Regions from separate parts of the Homo sapiens genome. Here region 2 is linked to region 1. The links are contacts of gene promoters, found by promoter capture Hi-C in blood cells and fetal thymus (Javierre and others, 2016). All regions are on one chromosome and are shown on one strand. Each heading gives the region's core, a stretch centred on a gene start or on the middle of the fragment in contact. The rest is flanking DNA. Distances are from core to core; before and after follow the strand shown. Region 1 holds the start of PLCB1 (phospholipase C beta 1). Region 2 overlaps PLCB1 (phospholipase C beta 1).

What was found. Contacts are between HindIII fragments. The CHiCAGO score rates a contact against its expected background, and 5 or more counts as called.
Region 2: a fragment that was not itself captured here is called in contact with the fragment with the promoter of PLCB1 in region 1 in 2 of 17 cell types (megakaryocytes and M0 macrophages); the score reaches 5.6 in megakaryocytes.

The regions. Positions count from the first base shown.
Region 1 is chr20:8,127,434-8,134,763 of GRCh38, forward strand. PLCB1 (phospholipase C beta 1) reads left to right here and starts at 4,833. Exons shown (of 32, transcript NM_015192.4): 1 at 4,833-5,317. The coding sequence starts at 5,219. RefSeq lists a silencer at 4,919-5,058. The HindIII fragment of the contact is 1,963 bases long and covers 3,523-5,485 here.
Region 2 is chr20:8,366,128-8,373,457 of GRCh38, forward strand. PLCB1 (phospholipase C beta 1) reads left to right here. Exons shown (of 32, transcript NM_015192.4): 3 at 5,255-5,323. Among named protein-coding and RNA genes, the nearest start is that of PLCB1-IT1, 120 kb to the left of the region's middle. The HindIII fragment of the contact is 1,257 bases long and covers 3,249-4,505 here.

The DNA.
Region 1 (7,330 bases), core at 3,583-6,082:
GTTTATAGAATCAATGCAGCCAAAAAGAAGTTTACTAAATCACAGACCACAGAATTAGAATGCTGTCTTTTAAGACTAAAAGAGTTATTTAGGGCATAGAAAGGGAATATAGTAGAATTTCAGAATAACCATATGTGTGTTAACTACTATTGATTACCGCTGTGACAGGGACTTAGATATATGATTTCATTTAATCTTTGCAATACCTCTTTAAGACAGCTTACTGTGGTGGTTAAATATGTAGGCTCTGGGGTCAAACTGCCTAGTTTAAATTCTGGTTCACTCACTTACTAGCTGGAAAATGTTGAACAACTACTTAACACTTCTCTGACTCAGATTACCCAGCTATAAAGTGGAGATAATAGTAACCCGGCTCCTAGGGGTTAATATGACAGTGAATGCATTAAAAATGTAAAACCCTGAGAAGAGTATGTGACATAAAAAGCTTTGACATTATTATTATTTCTCCATTTACATATTAGGACCTTGTATTTCAGAAGAGATAAGAGACTTTCCCACGGTTACGTACGTAGTAATTGGTAGAACTGGCTGTTAAAAGATATGTCTATTCAAATCAAAACACTGTCCTTCCCACTGTGGCAGGCCTCAAGTGAGTTATGAGCTGACAAGAGACTGGAGTACATACCACAATCTAGTTTCTAGGGAAATTAGGACTATTTATATTACACTGTGGTTAAAAGGAGAGAGAAACTACTCATATCTGCCTTATAAGTTGTAGAAGTATCTACCATGGTAGTTAAGAGTCTAGGTTCTAAAGTCAGACTTCCTAGGTCTCCATCTCAATTCCGAATTTTGTAACTGGAGGAGGTTAATCCATCCTCCAAACTTTAGTATATAAATCAGTAAAATAGCATACAATAATATTATCTACCAGATCAGCTGAGAGTAACAATAAAGCTTAAATAATAAAGAGATTTATTATCTCACTCATTAAAAAGTCTAAAGAAAATTTAAAGGGTTTAAAAAGCTCATGAAGGACCAGGTTTCTTTGCATCTTTCTTGTCAGTGTCCTCTTTACATAACAATATGAGACAGAGAAAGAGAATTTCCCTGAAGACATTAGTCAGAACTGAGCCCCTCATATAGCTCTTAAACCAGTTACAGACAAAGGGGAATGGAATTATTGACATTAGTTTAGGCCAATCATAGTTTGTTCCTTGGAAAGAGAGAGGGGCCATGTTTCCTAAGCATGACGACCACCCAAATTAAGTCAGGGTTTGCTTACAAGAAAAAGAGGGTGGAGAGTGGTGTTGAATAGGAAGGGTTATGTTTTTTAGTGTCTGGGAAGTGCTTAGCTTAGTGCTCTGACCCACAGTGAGTGCTCAATAAAGGTTAGCTTTGCCAGCTCCCTGAGGCTGACATTCCCAGAGGGCAATTCTGTGCTCTCACAAAAAACAGACCTTCCTATTGTTTCAAAAAACAGTACACAGCACCGAACTTGACGGATCACAGGCCTGGCTCACACAATTTTGGATTTCTTACAGATCCCTTTGCATAGCAAAAATCTCCACACTTGGACACAGGAAGGGGAACATCACACACCGGGAACTGTTGTGGGGTGGGGGGACGGGGGAGGGATAGCATTAGGAGATATACCTAATGCTAAATGATGAGTTAATGGGTGCAGCACAACAACATGGCACGTGTATACATATGTAACTAACCTGAACGTTGTGCACACGTACCCTAAAACTTAAAGTATAATAATAATAATTTAAAAAAAAGAATGGGAAAAAAACAAAAAAACTCCACACTTTAGAAACATTTCTATCTTGTATACTGAACAAAAGGTGTGGAAAATGAGGGAGTTAAACCATGCTGCTTCAAGCATCATGCTACATGTTGAAGGTATTTATCCTGTAGTTCTCCTTTAACAAACTGCGTCATTTTGCTGGCTGAAGAAACTCTTGCAGCCCATGTTTGTCTTGAAGACAAATCCTGTTCAGATTTCTACAGCGTTCTCTCCTTTTTACGTCCACGTTCACAGCAACAGCTGGGAGGAATCAGGGATGCTAGATGAAATACTCAACTATCCATTGCCAATAATGGTGGTTACCAAATGACTCCCAACTCAGTGCCATTCAACAATGAACGTTTATTGTCATGTTCATGAGTCTGCAGGTTGGCTGAGTCTGGGAGATCTAGGATGGTTTCTACTGGACTTGCTTCCAAGCTGTAAATGGGGCTTAGGTCTGTCCTGATTGTCTCCTTAGATCAGAGGCTCCCTGAGGCATGTTTATCTCATGGAAATGATAAGAAACCCAAGAGGGAAAGCCCAACCTCAAAGCATATTTTGAGCCTTTGCTAATATCACATCTTCAAACATGCCATTGGCCAAAGCAAGTCACATTGTCCAACATCAATGGGATGGATAAATAAACAGGGTGTCTAGTAAAAACTGTAAGGTCACAAAGAAAAATGTGTGGACGCAGAAAGGAGCAGGGAGCAGAGAGCTATGATGCAATAAACTACCACAGGAGGCTCAATCTACTTCTTATTTTGCTTAGAGCTCATTGTAACTCTCCAATCTCCTCTTCTAGTGAGCGCAGCCCTGTCTTGCCTTCCTAAGCCACTGTGACAGGTAAAAACTATTTGGCCAATAATCTTTCCAGTAAATAACAAAGAGATAGAAGGAGAAAAGGAAAAGAAAGGAAAGGAAAGGAGGAAAGGAAAGGAAAGGAAAGGAAAGGAAAACAATTTGGTATGATCAGTTGTAAGGACAATTGAGAAGTTCTGGAGCCCTGGAAGCAGAGTTTCATTGCAGTACTCTGAAGTAGAGAAAATCGACTTGAGACGGTGACTGATACCTTCTGTGAGGTAATTAGCAAGCCAAGGCTGCTGGCTAGAGGGACTGTGGACCATTCAGGTTTTAGTTTAGGGACATGTGATCAAAATGAAACCAGTCAGTTTTTCATGAAATTCTTTGTAGCAATTGGCTTCCAAGCACAAGGCAAGACCCTCAAATGACAGCAAGAGTCATGGGTCTTGTTCACCAGGTTATCCATGGTGATTACAATAGTGGCTAGTATACAGCTGGCTACCAATAAGTATATTTTAAATGCATTGAAATATTTAATAGCAAATTTCTGTATTGGATTTTGGTAATCTTTTGACTGAGTTCATAAGCATTGGGCCTTGGAGTCCTGAGGGCAGAGAACAGGGAGAATGAAGGATTAAGAGAATGTAGTGTTTCTCTCCATTTTTCTCTCTTCGTATTCTTTCTTCTTTTTAAAAATCAACCTTTTTGAGATATAATTTATTTAAAACAAACTGCACTCAATTTAGGCGTACTTACAGAACTTACAAGTTTTGATAAACACACACACGATATAGAACATTTCCGACATGCTCATCAGGTGCTCGTAGCCCTTCCCTGTCCATCTCTACCTATCCCTGGCCACAGGCAAGCTTTCTGTCAACATAGAATATCTTGCCTATTCTGCAATTCCTACACATGGAATCAGGCAGCATACAGTCTATCGTGTCCGGCTTCTTTTACAAAGCTTAAAGTCGCGATTCATCCCTGATCTTGCATGCCCACTCATTTTTATTGTGGAATAGTATTCCAATATTTGGGCATACCACAGTTTGTTTATCCATTCACCTGTTGATTGACATTTGCAGGCTACTAAGAAGAAAGTTCTTCACATCACTTTACAAGTCCCTGCAGACTTGAACGTTTTCATTTCTTTTGGACAAATACTTAGGAGTGGAATTTCTAGGTTGTATGATAAGTAAATATCTTACTTTATAAGAAACTATTCTCCAAAGTGGTTTTACTATTTTATATTCCCTCCAGCAATGAACAAGAGTTCCAAGCTATTTCTCTCTCCGCCCCCCCACCTCCCGCGTGTGTCTCTCTCTCTCTCTCTTTCTCTCTCTCACACTCACTCACTCTCTCTCTCCCTCTCCTCTCTCTCCTTAATAAAAAAAAAAAAAGAGTTCCAGTTGCTCCACATCCTTTCAAGCATTTGGTATTACCAGTCTTTAAAATTTTATCCATTCTGGTCCTCCTCTTTCCCTTCTTCCCTCCCTCCCTCCCTTTCTTTCTTGAATTGAGAAATGTTTGTGGAAGGAGTGAAGACAAACATTCCTGGACCTATGTTCCTAAATGAGCAAGTTTCTATTAATAAGACTCTCCCCCACCCGCCACACATCCTACACACTCAAGGAGAGGAGCGGGAGAGGGCACCCTCTTTCTTCCTCGGAAAATAAAACCTTTGCTTTCTTTAGGATGGGCTTTCTGTCTCGAAAGCACAACGTAACCGTTTGCCCGGGTTTCAAGATCAGCGCGCTGCAAACTCTCAGGCGCGGCCAGGTTTCCTCAAAGAGCCTCTCAACTGCGCTCTTCTCTGCTGATAAATGATAATTCTCTTCAAAAAGCTGGTTTGTGGCTGGCGCTGGAGAGCTCCAGCTAGAGCCAAAAGCCAGGGGTTGCCTCTTTGGTTCCTCCCGATGGGCCCCTTTTCCCAGCCAGTTGGGATCCAAAGACGCTCCGGAGCTCGAGCCCAAATTCCCAAGAAAACCCCAAAGAGCGTAAGGCTCCTGGGGACCCCTAGCACCTCTGCAACCAGGGCACGGGGCATGCTCAGAGCGAATGCGGGAGGCAGGCGTTGGCTGCAATGGGGCTCGGGAGCCAGGAGGTGCCGCTGCGTCCCCGCTTCCTGGCGCCTGACCCAGCGTGCAAAGTTGGGCTGGGAGCCGCGGGGGGAAGGAAGGACCCAGCGAGCGAGGGTGGCGGGGAAGGGGGGCGGGGGGGAGGAGGAGGGAGGAGGGAAAAGAGCGGTTAGGGGGGGCGCCGGGCGTGTGTCACTCGCTCTCTCCCTCTGTGTATAGAGGATGTGCTGAATGGTGCGCTTTGAGGCGGCGGCGGCGGAGGAGCAGAATCCGCCGCGACTGGCAGCCTCGGCTGACCGGCTCGGCTTCTCTTCGCCTTCCGAGGCTCCTCATCCACCGCGGGCTCCAGACCTCGCGTCCCGCCCGGGGCATGGCCGGGCGCTGCGCCCCCGCGCGCTCTGCCTGCTGAGCGGCGCCGGAGGGAGGTGCGGAGGCCGGGAGGCCGGGGAGGCCGGCGGGGAGCAGAGTCGAGCGCCTCCGGAGCAGAGAAAGGAGCCCGCGCCCCGCGCCCCGCGCCCCGCGCACGGTCCCCAGTCCCTGCCGCGCTCGCCCGGGCCGCCCGGAGCCCAGATGAGCCCAGATGGCCGGGGCTCAACCCGGAGTGCACGCCTTGCAACTCAAGCCCGTGTGCGTGTCCGACAGCCTCAAGAAGGGCACCAAATTCGTCAAGTGGGATGATGTAAGTATTGGGGCGGCCCGAGTCGGGGCGCTGGCTCGGGCACCGGGCAGGGCGGGCGTCGTGGGGGTGGGGCAAGGGGCGCGTTATGCAATGGGCGCACTGGGAGCGGGCAGGGGCAGCCTCGGGCGCACAGGTTGGCATCTGCCAAAGCGGATGTCCAAGGGCAGAAGCTTTGCGCGCGCTCCTGTTTCATCGGGCTTCAGTAGTTGCCATCCTTTCTGGGTCTGGCAGGCGCCCCCTGAGGGTCTTACATCTTTTGGGCCAGTGGAGAGGGAGGGGCAAGCTTTGCCTGGTGACAGGTCCTGAGAGTTCGGAAAGTAGGGAGTGTGAAGTTGGGACCAACTGGAAAGCGCCTGGTGTGAACAAATCGCGTCCCTCTCCGCCTGCGGACGCACCCCCTATTACCTCTTTTGCCCGATTTCAAGAAGGAAGGACCTGAAGTTCAAAACACTTTAGTGATTGCGAACCCTCTTGGCGCTTTTGTGGGAGCCAAGGCGGCGGAGGACACAACGGTCCAGCCAACAGGTGGTCGTTGATGCCAAACTTCAGCGCCTGGCTCCGGAGTGAGGGTCCCTGAAAAGGGCTGCGGGGACACATCTGGGGAGGGCGTGAACAGAATGGGGGCCCTTGAGGGGTCCTGGAGGGCTCATGGGCCTGCAGGCAAGTGGGGAGGGCTGACTTTTGAGAACTGAGCTGATTGGAGTCTTCTGCCTGAAATAGACAGGTTGAGAGTTTGCCCCACGATTTACCTGCACCGTTTGCCAGGTAGGGCAGAGCCTAGCCCAGCGCCGGGGTCTCTAATGCTTTACGAGCGGCCCAGACCCCAGGACTTCAAATGACTTCCCCTTCCCCTCTACCCCAGTTGTCTTCAAAACACGTAAATTAGTTATCCAGCTGAAAACATGCGAATCTTCGGATGGAGAACATTATGGTATCAGTTTTATGTCCTGGGTGTCATTCTAAAGGTTCGATAAGAAAAACCTACTGAAATAAACCCGAGTTGCCAGGCTCTAAGCAAATTTAAGTCCAAATGACTAATACATCTCTTAATCAGAAGGAATTATAGGAGAATGAGGCGTTCTTCTTGCCGAAAAGATTTTCCACCTAGTAAATTATAGCCTGTTATCCTCTAGGGTATTTTTCTTTAATCTTCTTAAGCCATTTTCCAGTGTCTGAAAACAATTTAAATATTCCAGGTAGTGAATCCAATTACTTAGCTGAGTGCGTCTGTGTCTATATTTTGTCCAGCTGGAAGCGCAAACGGAACTTGGAGTATGAACCACAGCTTCCTTGAAAGCTCGTGCCAATTATTAAATGCTGTAGGCAAGGATGTAAACATACATCTTTTTACCATGGGCTTCACACTTTTCTTCTTTCTGTTCCAGTCTAATTGTACTGAATGTTTCTGTAAATGGAATAGAATCTAAACAATAAATTCAGACGCAGATTAAATGCTTTGTGTCAGGGAAAAAAAAGACAAAGAAAATGCAGTTCAGCAATAAACAAGACGGTCTTGCCCATTTTGAGATCCTTGAATAGAGAGGTGATGTGATGATGGATTTACTGAGAAAGAGAGTGAAGGGCAGAGGAAAGAGAAAGAGACTTTGCAGAATTTAGAAAAGGGAGTTTCAGCGTAAGCTCTGGATTTGTATACAGTGATGATTCTAAACTGTATTTTAAATAATTCTCTATAATTTCTTGTTTGGGAGAGAATAGCCAACATCACATTGAGAATGAAAGTATTCTATGAAAACACATTTTGGTATATCCAGGTAGATGACTTTCATTATGTGCATTTCTGTAACACATATTTCTTGCTCACCTATTACTGCCAATCCTAGACTGGATTCTGGGGTGGTGAAAAAAGTAGACAAAATCCCTGCTGTTACGGACCTTACATGCTAGGTGGAGGAGACAAAAATCATCAAAAACACCAATGAGAGAGAGATTGGGTGATGCATTGAGGGTAATAGAGAGGACGTTAGTGAAATACCAACCAAAGAAGAAGTTGAA
Region 2 (7,330 bases), core at 2,627-5,126, 240 kb after region 1:
ATTAATTAGTAATAATGGGTTTTGAGTATTTTGTTAAATACCCAATACCTCAGTTTGTTTAAGAGTTTAAGAGTTTCTGTTTTCCAGCTTTGTGGAATTCATTATTTCTTTACGACTTTCTTTGAAAGAGAGATCACAGGGTATATATGTGGAAAACTTGGGTTTGAGTGAAGACCCTAAAATTAATTATTCATGTATTCAGTCAATAACTTTACCACACTAACAATGCACAGAAATTGGGATTCTGGAAAGAGCTGAGTTTTAAATTGTATTTCTTCCTGAGTTTGATAATTAACATCTTCAGCAGGGTGTCGTTCATTCACAAACCAGGATGAAATACAGCCTGTGTGCTGAACTTTATGTTAAACACTGTACAAACAGAGATAAAAGTCCAAGGTCTTTTGTCGAGGGATTCACACCAAGTGGTGAAACCCCATGTCAATAGACAGTTACAATATTATTGTAATATTACTGTTAATTCACTTTTATCCATGCTGTTAATTCATTTTTATCCATACTGACAAAAAGAGAGGGCATATCCATCAATGCATCAGTGGATGCATCTGAGGTCCTAAGAGTGTGATCTCCAAGCTTTGCAGGGTGTCATTAATGGCCTTGGAAATAAAGGGTTCTTTTAGTACATGCCTCGTTTAATGATTCCGGTAGGTTCTTTTAGTACATGCCTCCTTTAATGATTCCGGTAGGTTATGTGACTTTAGGCACTTCAATTCCTTTCTCATTGTTGGATGGACTTCAAGGTTAGAGAGAACAAATTTTAATTTCTTTATTCCACTTTTCTAAAGATGTATCTAATGTTATGAAGTATAATGCAAAGGTTCTATGGGAGAACATCTGTGACAAACAAAACGATTTCAATTGTTGCTTGAGTTTCTGAACACCTAGGACATTTGCTTGGATAGAATATGATTTAATCCTAAAGAGAAATTATTAAAATAGCAGTCGATGGCATTTGTCATTCAATAGTTTTTTCTTCAGCTAACTCTCACCACTAGGCACACTTTTACATTCAGTAAGTGTAATATTTTTATTTGAAAGTTCCCAATATAAAGAAATGATAGTTATAGATTCTTCATATTAACAAAAGTAATGTATTGCTTTATCAATGATATTCACATGAAAGGCCTTATAACAACATGAGTGAGTATATAATTAGTGCTTCTCAAAGTGTGGTCATTGGACCAGCAACGTCAGCATCACCTGGAGGTTTATTTGAGATGCAGATTCTCAGGCCTGCCTCAGACTCACGGAATCAGAAAGTCTGACAGGTGACACGGAGCAAATCTGTATTTTACTAAGCTTTTCAGGTGACTGTAATGCAGGCTACAGTTGGAGAGCCACTGATACGGAAGGTATGATCATACCCATTTAATAGATGAAAAAATTGATGCTCAGTGTGGTAAAGTTATTGACTAAATACATGAATAATTAATTTTAAGGTCCTCACTCAAACCCAAGTTTTCTGCAATATACACTCTGTAGTCTCTCTCTCAAAGAAAGGAGTAAAGAAATAATGAATTCCACAAAGCTGGAAAACAGAAACTCTTAAACTGAGGAAGGGCAGAAAGGGACCATTTCACTGCTTTATTGTAATGAGTTGTTAAAACTATTGTCACGAGAAAATTAACCTAGAAAAAGTTTTAATGATACAAGAAACACTTTTGTGGTCATGCATTGGGTTCCTCATTTTCTTTTTAGTGGCAGAGAGAAAGGGATGCAGTTAAACTCCAGAGGGGTGGCTGTGGTATGTTAATAGAAGTGGGAGACACTATTTGAATCATCGCTTTGTAGCCAAATGAGTTCATGGACGGCATTTCCACCCAGGTCTTCCCCACGCCACATTACCCTTGATGACAGTGCCCTGCGGTGGTTTTCATGCACACAGTTGGCGTTAACTACCCTTCCGTGGCTTGGGGAATGAATCCTGGAAGTGGAATACAGAGTTCATTATCTGTAATGCAAAAGTCTATATAATGATGCCTGCTAAGATCTAGTTCTTTGTTAATTCAATTTGGGCTTTGCGTATATAATCAAACAAGTTATGTTTAAGTCTATTGTTTCTTCAATTGGGAGGAATTTCCTTAAATAGAAAATATTACGGGCCGGGCACGGTGGCTCATGCCTGCAATCCCAGCACTTTGGGAGCCCGAGGCGAGTGGATCACTTGAGGTCTGGAGTTTGAGACCAGCCTGGCCAACATAGCAAAATGCCGTATGTACTAAAAATACAAAAATTAGCAGAGCATTGTGGTGTGTGCCTGTAATTTCAGCTACTCGAGGGCTGAGGCACGAGAATCACTTGAACCCGGGAGGTAGAAGTTGCAGTGAGTTGAGATTGCACCACTGCACTTTAGCCTGGGTGATGGAGTGAGACTCTGTCTCTCAAAAAAAAAAAAAAAAAAAAAAGAAAAAGAAAAAATAAAAGAAAATATTACTATTGATTAGGTAAAAATACTGTGTGTGAGAGATATATTTTTATCCTATATAGATGTAAAACATCATGCAACATATATGGAAAATTACATCAAATGTAAATGTTAGTGTTTTATAAATAATTATAAAGAGAACACCCATGTAATGACCACTAAATCCCAAAGTGATTGTTGCTAATGCTCCATATACCTCTGTGACATATCCTAAGTGGGTTGTAGTTTTCTGCACACAATTCCTGCTTCTGTGAGTTTCTACCCGCAATTTCCTCTCTCTGAAACCACCACCCACCCTCCCACCCCGATCACACAGTTATAAGGCTGGCAAACTCTGTCTCATCCTTGTGTACTGGCTGAAATCATGCCATAGCTCTCTGTAGCCAATGTCTGTAGGGCACTTTGAAATATTTCCTTTAGCATATAATATTTGACTTGCTTGTGAACTCATCGAAACTGGGATCTTATCTTTGTATGTTTTAGTTTCTCAGTACTAGTGTATACCTGATACATTGTAGGCATTCAATAAATAATGCTCCAGTGAATTAATTACTGGCATTTTCACTTGGATAAACCCCTCAAACCAACATCTCCAGAATGCACTATCATTTTGCCCAAACTTCTGAGTCTCAGTGTAGGAAAGGTGGAAACTGCAGCGTGTTTTATGACTTCCCTCTTTCCTTCAGTCAGTTCCTCCATTGCCATCTCTCTCCTCTTTCTTCCAATTACTTACCTTCATTTTGTCTCTCATCTTTCACCTCTCAGATCTCCACTTATTTCCCATCTTCTAGATTAAACTTCTTCAAGCTTGATTCCCTTACTGTTTCTCCTCTTCCAGCAAATATTTTGGTTGTCATTGCTGTAGAGATGAAGAAACCTGGACATATGCTTGACTTACTCATGTCTGGTTTTTCCACCGTTTCTTCACAGAGGGTTCTATAATGTGCATTTTCTGAAGTGAAGCATTGAACATGGTTGAGACCATTGTTTTCTAACACTCATAAGGTAACCTCCAATATTGTGGATGGTGTGGCCTTCGGGGAACTGTGGCACCAGTCACTCTGTATTGCAAATTCCTTGCTGGGTTGCCACCTGTCACACCCCAGGGGTTTGGGAGAATTTCCACAGGGTCAGACACAGCATGAAATGGGCTAAGGAACCCTCTAAAATGGGGAAAATGAAACTTACAAGGTCAGAGTGAGCAAGAGCAGAGACCCACTGTTTCCTGTCCACCCTTCATCTCACAGAGAGGTGTGTCAGGAGTTCTGTTGGACCTTCTGTGTGGGTTTGCATTCGAGGAGTGAGACTTCACCTTTAATTTGGCCTTTACTACAAGGCAATCTTAGGTGCAGAAAAATAATCAGACCAGTTTGCACCAGACATTTGGAACTGGCAGCAGCTGTTTGAAGAAGTTGACTAAGAGCAAAAGGTGCTGGTTCTTAGGGAGCTTGGCCTTTAAGAAGTTACAGCCACTCCTATCCAGAGGTTCTATTGGCAGCTGAATTAGGATGCAGTGCCTCCTTCCGGGAGAAGGGGATTCGATGCTCCATCCAACTTGCTCATTGCCCAGGAATCATAGTTAGGACATCTGGAGTCACTTTAAGACAACTGCTCACTGCACCACAGTCCTACCTGGCTGGTGGTAGAGTCCACTGTCTAATGCAGCAACCTGTGTGTGTCACAAACCTCATGGCTCAGTCTCCTTAGCCAGACATTTAGGGTTTCCATTCTTTGGCCATATTCCTTTCTGATGTCATCTCTCATGACTTCTTGTCACATGTTCTGTGGCCTAGCCAATGGAATATTGAATGTCCTCCCACGTGAATCCGCTTCCATCCTTCTACAATACCACTGTACCTGCACCTTTGCAGTTCTTCCCTCCTGGATGCTTCTCTATCCTTCTCCCTACCTCCTTTCCCCGCAATGTTCTCTGTCTCTAAGTGTCTAAAGGCCACGAACACCTCAAGGTTCAGCCAAAACCTCTGGCCCTTTCTCATCTAGGCATTTGCTCATATTTTCCCCTCCAACTGGGAGGAACCCCTCCCCAACTTCTTTTTTTCCAAGCTTAATGATTTCTCATAAACTTTTCTCTGAGCCCCTAGGAAAAAAACTGTGTTTTCTTTGCTGCCCCCCAACCATAGTAGTCAACTTTAAAATTGGCATTAACACATTCCCCCTTGTCTTACACATATACATTTCTTTACACTCCTATTTGATGACAGGTCCATCCAGGAAAGCAATCATATCTTCTATGCCTTATTCCCTAGAGTAACTTGTGTATTACAGGTGTTCAATGATGGGTAATGATTAAGTGAAAAGATCAGGGCATGAGGTATGTGTGCAAAAGGCTGGGGGCTGTCAGAGGCAGATTCGTATCTCTGCCTTGGCCAGATAAGCTGGGTATGTATGTGAGCCGATGGGAGCATCCCACTCCGTCCTCCTCCCTAATCTTTCTCTCTACCGACATACCCTCATACCCTCACCTACGCTCAGTGACTCCCAGGATTATATTCAAAAGTAAGAACAAGAAGACCTGATTCATCATGATTTAGGAATGGCTTGTAGGATAGACTGGGGACATAACCACACACTTTTTGCTTTCAAAATGTATAACTGAGCAGTTAGCAGTTAGCTGTCTTTTGTTTCCAACCTAATTCAATTGAGAAGTGATATAAGAGGAAAGAAATATCCCAACTGCAGAGAAGTCTTCAGTCAAGTCTCAAGATAATTTTTTTAAGTGATGTCAATGACATAAAACAAAGAGGAAAGGTCTGTGTCGTTGCTTAACGATTTCACGTTTTTGCCTTCCAGGAGACAGAGCTACTGGATCTCAGCCTTGTCAAAGATGCCAGATGTGGGAGACACGCCAAAGCTCCCAAGGTAGGAGGTTGAGTGTTGTGCATGCACCAGATGCTGCCTTGATTGTTTGGCTGTGTCACAATATCAATTAATTGCCCCAATTAAAAGTTTCTATGTTATAGATGTTGTAAAACACAATAGCCAGTATGCCCTAAACACTTTCACTTTTATTAAAAGACGGAAACAATGAACAAATATGTGGGCTCTTGGACAGAGGGGCTTGCTTTATGTCCTCTAATTTTGCCTTTGTTTGAAAAAAAAAGACAACGACAACAATGCCCAAGTTACTGGGTAATTCTAAATGATTAAAAAGTACTTGAAATTATTTGAAAAAATCTTTGAACCTCGTAAACATATGGGAACTAACCGTTAGACATGATGAATAGAACTCCCATATAGCTGAAATGCTCTGCAATTGAAATGATTCCATCCACAATGCCAAAAGGTGTATAGTCTTAATTCTGCAAATGTTACTAGTAAAGATCAGCATACTTTGGGATGAATTGTGTGCAGTGTCATTTGTTTTGGTTTGAAAAACTTACTGAAGAAATATTCAAAGAAGTGTTTGCAGTCTGTTTATTTTTTGAAGATAATTTTTAAATATTGGATGAAGAACATAATTTTTTAAGCTTAGATGATCTGGTAGGATATAGTAGCAGGATATGTTGTCTTGCCATCAAAGTTAAAAGCTATTCTTCATTTTATTTAAAATTTAGTACTTTACATACTTCATTTCTGGCAGAGAGGGTATTGGCAAACATAGAAGTACAGTTGCCATTTAGGAGCTCAATGCGTCTTTCCATACTTGATATAAAACTAGCTATTTTCTATTTGAGTGTCTTCCCACAACTTTTGTTTTATCTTTTAAAAGTCAAAATTCTTTCTCTGACATTAAAATGATCTGTTGCTTTGGAGATGCAAGAAAAAAAAATCACCTGGAATAATTATTCTTCAGAGGCGTAAAAAGGCAGTAGGTGCCAGCATATTCTATGACACAGCAAACACACGGCTGCTGGGTTTTTTAATTTTTTAATTTTTATTTTATTTGCTGAAAGGGTTAAAATGATCTATGGTAAAATGTAAAAAACAAAGATTTTTGAAAGAAAAATTAGAACTGTATTCAAGAAGGCTTCTATAAGTGTTTCATATGAAACTAATCTGTTATTTACATTTATCTCCTTAGTAACATGGAATTTCAATAGTTTAGCCTCTCAGTTTTGTATCAGACTTACTATAATTAATGCTTTGTTGATGATTCAAAATTGCTCACAGTTTTTAGTATAGGAAAGAATATTTTTTCTTCTTCCCCCAACAACATTTCAGCCAAATTTCATATAAGCCTGTTAGTTCCAAGAACTATATTGATAATGCAGCTATGAAATTTATCTTTGAACCTAAGTTTATTGGCCTAACTTGCAATTTCAATATCGATATTAGTTTTAAAGACAGTTGCCGACACTGCATCAGAGCCCTGTTTGTCCCCAGGCATTGGGAGTCAAAGTGAATTCTGCTGCCACATGGAGGGTTTCTTTCAGGCTTGAATCTGTCTCTTTTATTGCGGTACACAGCTTGCTTATCAGTTAAGTGTTTCGTTTATGGATGTGGTTTGATAAATGTCTACTGAACAGTGACAAATGAACAGCAGTAGGGCCTGTACTGTGCTCAGCTGATAAACCACTGTTAGATCCTCAAATGCTTCTCGTGAGGATGGATTTTTAACACTTAGAATACTCTGACTTTGTCAGCTTTTCTCCATCAGCTCTTTCTTGGAGGGACTGATTACTTCCTCTTTGAATTATCTATGCTCCTGGCTTCCTTTTTTTCCCTCCTATTTATTGCTGATGTTCAAGAACCTCACTCTCCTCTAATATTTTCAAAGCCTGGTTCTATTAAACATTACCTGTGTGGCTTTCCTGAGACTCCAGCTTCTTCCTTGTTGGCTAAATGGTGAAGATAATGATAATAATAAGTACTTGAAATGGTTGCTATAAGGATTAAATGAAATAATTCATTAGGAAACCTTTAGCA